3 separate regions of the Homo sapiens genome follow, and regions 1 and 3 are each linked to region 2. Evidence: promoter capture Hi-C in 16 types of primary human blood cells and fetal thymus (Javierre and others, 2016). All regions are on one chromosome and are shown on one strand. Each heading gives the region's core, a stretch centred on a gene start or on the middle of the fragment in contact. The rest is flanking DNA. Distances are from core to core; before and after follow the strand shown. Region 1 has its middle 11 kb from the start of ZNF709. Region 2 holds the start of ZNF439 (zinc finger protein 439). Region 3 has its middle 29 kb from the start of ZNF564.

The links. The method cuts DNA at HindIII sites, captures the fragments that hold promoters and counts their contacts. A CHiCAGO score of 5 or more calls a contact.
Region 1: a fragment that was not itself captured here is called in contact with the fragment with the promoter of ZNF439 in region 2 in 5 of 17 cell types (fetal thymus, naive CD4 T cells, non-activated CD4 T cells and 2 more); the score reaches 11.6 in fetal thymus.
Region 3: a fragment that was not itself captured here is called in contact with the fragment with the promoter of ZNF439 in region 2 in 1 of 17 cell types (erythroblasts); the score reaches 6.3 in erythroblasts.

The regions. Positions count from the first base shown.
Region 1 is chr19:12,494,321-12,497,020 of GRCh38, reverse strand. No RefSeq gene overlaps it. Among named protein-coding and RNA genes, the nearest start is that of ZNF709, 11 kb to the right of the region's middle. RefSeq lists enhancers at 1,398-1,477, 739-1,618, 1,619-2,499 and a silencer at 1,668-1,717. The HindIII fragment of the contact is 913 bases long and covers 937-1,849 here.
Region 2 is chr19:11,847,275-11,850,011 of GRCh38, reverse strand. It overlaps ZNF439 (zinc finger protein 439), which reads right to left and starts at 1,286. Exons shown (of 4, transcript NM_001348719.2): 1 at 1,082-1,286. The coding sequence starts at 1,144. The HindIII fragment of the contact is 1,093 bases long and covers 332-1,424 here.
Region 3 is chr19:12,521,439-12,524,138 of GRCh38, reverse strand. No RefSeq gene overlaps it. Among named protein-coding and RNA genes, the nearest start is that of ZNF564, 29 kb to the left of the region's middle. RefSeq lists a silencer at 1,810-2,104. The HindIII fragment of the contact is 5,681 bases long and covers 1-2,700 here.

The DNA.
Region 1 (2,700 bases), core at 144-2,643, 650 kb before region 2:
CACGAGTGTACCCTAATGTGAAAGCAAAACTCAAACCTAATGTCTAAAAGTAGACCCAAGGAAACTACAATTACAACCTAGACAATTAAAACCCTCCCGGTTCTCCTAAAACCGCGTGCGGTTCCCAGCATTCCAGTGCTCTGTAGCTTCTCTCTGTATAAAGAGCTCTTTCCTTGGTGGGTGAGAGCAAGTAGGACACTTTTGGGGAAGGCTCCCCAGGAAGACCCATCTGGGCTTTCAATGACCTCCCTTTGCAGGCTCAAGAGTGGTCTTAGCTTGAAGTCACTAGTCTCTGGCTGCTGCTCCCCAGTCATGGGGCTTTCAACCGCTATTGATGTTTATTTTTTTGAGACAGGGTCTCCCTCTGTCACCCAGGCTGTAGCGCAGTGGCGAGATCATAGCTCACCGCAGCCTCGACCTCCAGGGCTTGGGCTTAAGTGAGCCTCCCACCTCAGCCCCCTGAGTAGCTGGGACTACAAGCACAGGCCATCATGCAGCTAATTTTTGTATTTTTAGTAGAGACGAGGGTTTCACCATGTTCGCCAGGCTGGTCTCGAACTCCTGACCTCAAATGATCCACCCACCTCGGCCTCCCAAAGTGCTGGGATTACAGGCGTGAGCCATCACGCCCAGTTGAAAGACGGGAACTTTCAAAGTTGCTTTTCTGGTAAAAGTTAAAGCAGAGGGGACTTTCTTTATCATGTTGGCTAAAACTGGCCTGTTGGGGATTTGACCAGCATCTCTTTCTCTCCTGATAATTTGTAAGGTCAGATAAACAACTTAGTTTCAGCTTGGTAGCGAGGAACGTCCCCGTGGGTAACTCATTTTGGTTTGGTCTGTTGGGTCTAGTGCAGGAGCTCAGTCTAAACCAATGGCTTCCTACAAATTGTATTTAACAGGGCAAATAATAATATTATGAATTGGAGAGGGAAAGCTTCATTTGGAATGAAAGAAGGAATTGGCAAATTTAGGGATTTCCTGTCAGTCCTAGGAAGAGCTAGGCTGGAAAACGGGGTCGTGGATTTGAGATCCTGTTTTCACACGTTTGTAAAATTAAGGGGCAAACCGGTCCCCCTGGGGAAAAAGAAGAGACTGGGGACCCCACGGACCACCGCTCCTCCCACGCACGAACGCCACACTCGAGCCGGGATTCCTTCTCTCCTATGACCCTCCCGTGATCCCCACACAATCTTGGAAGACGCGGGGCTACGGGCATGGAGCTGCCCACACAGGGCTCCGGGACCCGGGCCTCAGTAGCCGCGCGGGGACAGGACAGGACTCCCGGGATCCTGGCTGCCGGCCCAGCTTCACTCTGCGGCGGGAGGAGGCCGAGGGCCGAGCTACGCCAGGGGGACTCGGGTTCACAGACCCAGGAGTGGCCGCGGGCAGGCCCGGTTCCCGCGACAGCCGGTTCCGGCCAGCAGCTCTTCAGGTCTCGGGATTCCAGGCCCCGCACAGTCACCATTTCCGGGCTTCCGCGGTGTCCCCACCCCCTAACTACGACTCCCTCTGCCAGTGCGGGTCCCAGAGCGACAGAGGCTGCGGCAGAGCCACCTAGCGACGTTCGAGGCAGGAGAGACACAAACTGGAAATCGCGCCACCGTATCCACGCGCCTTTGTACAGGGCGGCCCCACCCACCGCTCCGGCGGCGTCTCCAATTGGACAGTTTGTGAGGTTCCACCCCCTGTTGCCTGAGTCACATCTCAGACGGAGGTCAGGTAGCTGAGCGATCCAGCTTCCACTTTTGTCCCTGAAACTGTCCTGCCAGAGACATTTGCATTATACCAGAACTTTATATGCTAGATATAAAGGCCCTCAGACCGGACACTGGCGTTTACCGAAGAAGCTTCTGAACGGGGACATAGGTGTGCGCGCAGGGAATGCCAGACAAGAGTTTCCAGATAAAGCGAACCCCTTGATGACTGACTCTTTGAGGAGTAAATCCACAGCAAAAGGGCCCTGGAGGCAAGGCCATACTGGATCAGGAGAGTCAGATATTCTCCAGAGGACAGTGGCTTGGCATCATGCTGCCAGGACACTCAGAACTGTGACCCCGTAGGTTCACAGAGACCAGGCAATGTTTACATTTTTAATTTTAAGTTTTGTTGTGGGTACATAGTAGGTGTATATATTTATGAGTTACATGAGATATTTTGATGTAAGCATGCAATGCCTAATAATCACATCATGGTAAATGGGGAATCCATCAACTCAAGCATTTATCCTTTGTGTTACAAACAAGCCGATTATACTCTTTTAGTTATTTAAAAATGTGCAACCAAATTATTTTTTACTATAATCACCCTGTTATGCTAGCAAATACTAGGTCTCATTCATTCTATTTTTTGTGGCCATTAACCATCTTCACTTCCCCTTCCCCCAACCCCCGCACTACCCTTTCCAGCCTCTGGTAACCATCCTTCTACTCTCTATCTCCATGAGGTCAATTGTTTTAATTTTTTGCTCCCAAAAATAAGTGAGAACATGTGAAGTTTGTCTTTCTGTGCCTGGCTTATTTCGCTTAACATAATGACCTCTAATTCCATCCAAATTGTTGCAAATGACAGGATCTCATTCTTTTTTATGGCTGAATAGTACTCCATTGTGTATTTGGAACATTTTTTTTTTAATCCATTCATCTGTTGAGGGACAGTTAGGTTGCTTCTAAATCTTGGGGATTGTGAATAATGCTGCAATAA
Region 2 (2,737 bases), core at 37-2,536:
CCTGAAAATTGAGTGCCTCTGTATGACAGGATGGGAGGTGAGACAGGTCTCCTTATACCCTCTCCCTTTAGGAGTTTACATGCAGCAACTGACGCACATTCATGTAAAAACAGACATTCTCTGACTGGAAAAACAGACTCCTTGTGGCAACAAGATACCAAATTACAAACAAGACCTAAGGCCACGCAAGGCAAAGGTAAAGTTACGTCTTAGAATTCATAAAATCTAGAGAAACAGGACTGTTTTTTGGCTGGGATGGAATGAAGTGGCAGATAACAGACCCCCTTCCTTCAGCATTCCTTCCTACCTCCTCCAAACTTTAGACAAAGCTTCACACTCTCAACCAGCTGCCACCTACAGAATCCCTCAACCACCTGTGCCTCCTAACCCCCCTTCCACAGGTCCCACCCTTTCTGCCAATGGAATTTACACCTTCCAGCCTTGATCCATCATTTTCCCTGCAATTCCTGTCTCTCTGAAATGAATAAAACCAAACTGTCCTGAGCCGCCTCCGGACCACTTACTCCAGGCTGCTTGGGGTTGTGTTTCCCTCGGCCAAGGTCTCTCCTACTCGGCTCTGAATACACTTCTGTATTTTACATAGTCTGTTTTTTTTCCGTTGACAAACCACAAGCCAGGACCGGGTGTTTCTCATTCGTGAATGGCTGTTTCCTCAAATGAACTTTTTGTTAACGTACCTCAGTATAATTTTTAACAGGAGAAAGTGGAGGCTGTGGGCCCCACAGACCGCTGCTCCTCCTACGGACGAAATCCACACCCGAGTCGAAATCCGCGCATGACCCTCCCGTGGCCCCCGCACAAGCTGGGGCGTCGGGCTGCGGGCGCGGAGCTGCACAAAAGGGCTTCGGGGCCAAGGCCGCAGTCGACGGGCAGGGACGGGACAGGACGCCCGGAGTCCCGGCTGCCGGCCCACCCACATCCAGCGGCCGCGGGGACCGAGGGCCGAGCAGCTCTAGGAGGACTCGGTCCCAGACCCCGGAGTCGCCCACAGGGAGGCCCGGGTCCCGCCAGTTCCAGGCAGCCCCTCCCCCATCGCACCACTCCCGGCCAGCACACGCACCATTTCCCGGCTTTCAGATGTACCGGGGTCCTCTCTACAGCTCCTGTGAGTAAAGCAGGGCATAGCGCAGGTGACAGAGCGACAGAAATCTGGGTAGAGGCACTAGGTCCCTCTCGGGGCTGGAAAGGCCAGATCCCAACCGCCGCCCTCGCAGCGACAAAGGTGACGGCAGGAATGCAACATCCTCCGTGCCTGGATGCACAGTGGGCAGGGCCCCGAGCCAGTGCCTCTGATTGGATGGAATGTTCGGCCCCGCCCCCCACGTCTAAGTGACAGCGGAAGCCCTGGGTATCAGGCCCTGCGGAGCCAGACTGACAGATTCTAGCAACAGCTTCTCTAAGCTTACACGAGCTGCTTCCTGCACTCGGGTTATTGGATAGTTGCATTTCAGCCAAACTTGCTATTGTTAGAAGAGAACACTAGCGTCTTCCTCACTCAAAGGACTGTCCCCGCTCCTTCGTTCTGCACGGGGTCACAGGAGTGTGCAGGGAATTTCAGACTCAGTGTCCACAGGAGCCATCTCCTGCCTCAGAGCAGCAGGGGAACCGAGACCAGGCCAGGCAAGACTGCACCAGGAGGAGAGGCATATTTCCTCGAGCGGGCCGGAATTGGGGATGAGGCATGGCCAAGACTTGCTCACACACCCCCATCCCCTCCTCACAGTATGAAAATGCTCCGTCCTTCCAGATCTTCATTTTCACCTGCAGGAAACTCTCACCTGGGGTTAAGCTTCGGACCTAAATAAACTGTCAACCTCATAAACCTTTTATCCAGGTGACGCCACCAAACAATTGTGTCTCTAGCCTGATTTTCACACATTTTCTTTATATATACAAATAACTCTGACTCCAGCGACCCCATGTATGTCAAACCCCAAACCCTGCCCAGAAGACAGCCCCAGGCTCCAGAGGTACAACACCAGAAAGGACAGAACCCCACAAATGCGTCTGCACGAAGGTCTTCTGCTTTCCAGGGCCCTACAGCTTCTCGGAATCCACACTCCTTCTGGAGCTGCTCTGAGCAGCTGGAGGCCACCTGTAGGGGAGGGCGGGCTGCCCAGGAAGCCCCCAGGAAAAGCTCCTTTCCCTTCCTTTGCAGGCTCCAGACTGGCCTCAGCGTGGAGTCACTGGCCTCGGGCTCTGCTGCCCCTGCAGGTTATTCAGCTACTTCTCACCCCATTGATCAGTTCCATGACACAAACACCCTCAATCCCATTGTGTGAATAAGACACCAGCAGAGTCCCTGCTCTCCTCCTATGTTTATGTATAAAGTGGGGAAGGAAAATTCTAAGATAACTTAAGTACATTTAAAAGACTTCCAGATCGCGGTGGAGGTGGCAGCGGAGGGACCCACGGTCACTGACACTGCAGCACCTCCAGGCCTGTCTGGTCAGAGAAAGGGTGGAAAGCTGGAGATGGATGTGGATACGTGGAGGGAGCAGCCCTGGGAACTGGGCTCTGCAGCAGCGCGGCTCTAGGGCCTGGAGCCCGGGAGAGCACAGATGGGGGCTCCTGGGACAGGATGCTCAAAGAAGAGTCAGGTGGCTTCCATGAAATGGGGTGCTATGGCAGCTGGTGAGGGCCTGTGGCTATCATAATTTGGGACGTGAAAACTTGGATTCCGTGGGAATTTATGAAGAGGAAGGCTCTGATGACA
Region 3 (2,700 bases), core at 14-2,513, 670 kb before region 2:
TTTTTTTCGTTTTTCTATCCATGAGGGACCTGTTCCTACACAGTCCATTTGGATTTTAGTAGGCATTTAGATTTGATCCCCAGGATTGACTTCCCTGTCTCCTCCCCCCTTCACTGTAGACCTGGACCTCACTCCCAGACCCAGGGCCTATGATAACCACTTCCCTTTATTGAAGAGGGATACTTTTAATTTCCTCTGCACACTATTCACAGACATGTATATCAAATATATATCTGATAATTTAAGCAAATAGAAATTCTTTGCTCGGAAATCTTTAAGAATATGAGAAGAAATAGCAGCATATAGTGTCCAGAAAAGGTGGGAGAGAACTTCTTAGGTATGGAAAGTTTATGTAATAGGTAATGTGTAACTATTTACCACTAATTCTGTACCTGGGGTAAAGGTGGTGTTCAAGAAATGGAGAGCCAGGCCTGGTGTGGTGGCTTATGTCTGTAATCCCAGCACTTTGGGAGTCCGAGGCAGGCAGATCACTTAAGGCCAGGAGTTCGAGACCAGCCTCGCCAACACAGCGAAACCCTATTTCCACTAAAAACAGAAAAATTAGCTGGGTGTGGTGGTGCACACCTGTAATCCCAGCTACTTGGGAGGCTGAGGCAAGATAATTGCTTGAACCTGGGAGGCAGAGGTTACAGTGAGCTGAGATCACGCCACTGCACTCCAGCCTAGGTGACAGAGCCAGACTCCATCTCAAAAAAAAAAAAAAAAAAAAGCAGTGGATAAATAAGTCACTGCTTGCACAATAAAGAAATAAATGGGCCAGGCACAGTGGCTCATGTCTGTAATCCAGCACTTTGGGAGGGTAAGGCGGATGGATCACGAGGTCAGGAGTTTGAGACCAGCCTGGCCATCATGGTGAAACCCCAACTCTACTAAAAATACGAAAAATTAGCCATGCATGGTGGCTGACGCCTGTAATCCCAGCTACTCAGGAGGCTGAGGCAGGAGAATTGCTTGAACCCAGCAGGCGGAGGTTGCAGTGAGCCAAGATTGCACCACTGCACTCTAGCCTGGGCGACAGAGTGGGACCCCATCGCAAAAAAAAAAAAAAAAACAAAAAACAACTCTGCAAGGAAATGAAGCAAGTGATCCCTCTTGGAGTGGATTTCATGAAGTACCTTTAAATGGCAGAACATCAGGTTTCCATTTCCAAAATTATTTTTCTTCATGCTCTGACTGAAATAGTGACTGGTGTTGGAGAAACGGGTGGAAGATAGCGTAATAAACCAAATTGTTCTTTCTAGTGGGGAAAGCATGAATCACCCAAAACTAATAATCACGGAATTTACTTACATGGTATGGAAGAATAAGCAACCATAGAAGAAATCAGAATAGTTGTCACAGAACTAATTTACAAGCATTAGTGCTGTTTCCCAGGCCAGGTTCTATCTTGTTCTCAAGGAATAGTTACATCTTCAGTGTAAATTATGGGTACCATTGAGAGAAGTTTTACTTTCTACTTTATGAAAATGATGATGATGACAATAATACCGCAACATGAGTACTGCTAATGGAAACACTTTATGCCCAGGCACAGTGGCTCACGCCTGTAATCCCAGTACTTTGGGAGGCCGAGGTGTGCAGATAGCTTGAGGTCAGGAGTTCAAGACCAGCCTGGCCTACGTGGTGAAACCCCGTCTCTTATTAAAAATATAAAAATCAGCCGGGTGTGGTGGTACACGCCTGTAATTCCAGCTACTCGGGAGGCTGAGACAGGAGAATCGCCTGAACCTGGGAAGCGGAGATTGCAGTGAGCTGAGATCATGCCACCGCACTTCAATCTGTGTGACAGAGTGAGACCCTGTCTCAAACAAAACAAAGCAAAACAAAACGCTTCAGACAGAATTACTGTCAAGCACGTCACGATGCACCTTCTGTGGGTTATCTTACTACATTTTACCTGTCTACTGATGCCCCAGCGTGGCCACAGCCTGAACTGCAGCACCTTCCTGCAGATACCCCTTTTTTAGTGAACAAGTAAATGCTGCTTCTAGTCCCCTTGGTACTAGGTCTGTGCAGAGCACAGAGAAAGATGAATCCAGCCAGAGACTGCCCCAGAGTAACTCCCAGAGGTGGAATGAGTGAGATAATGCTGGGATTGAGATGTTTGATGTAATCTCATGTCTGTTTTTGCTTTTGCTGCCCGTGTGTTTGAGTTCTTATCCACAAAGTCCTTGCACAGACAAGGTCATGTAGAATTTTACTGTTTTCCTTTAGTAGTTTTACAGTTTCAAGTCTTACATGTAAGTCCGTAATCCATTTTGAGTGGATTTTTGTATATGGTGAAAGATAGGGGTCCAGTTTCAATGTTCTGCATGTTGATAATCCAGTTTTCCCATCACCATTCATTGAAGAGACTGTCCTTTCTCCAGTCTGTGTTTTTGGCACCTTTGTCAAAAATCGTTGGTAAGTGTGTGAATTTATTTCTGGTTTCTCTATTCTGTTCCACTGGTCTGTCTATGTTTATGCCAGTACGGTGCTTTTTTGGTTACTTTAGATTTGTAGTCTATTGTGAAGTCATACTCAAGATTGCTTTGGCTATTTTTGTGGTTCCATATGAATTTTAGGATAATTTTTTCGATTTCTGTGAAGTATGGCTCTTGTATTTTGATAGGGATCACACTTGAATCTGCAAATTGCTTTGGGTGGTATGGACATTTGAAGAATATTCTAAGCTGGGCA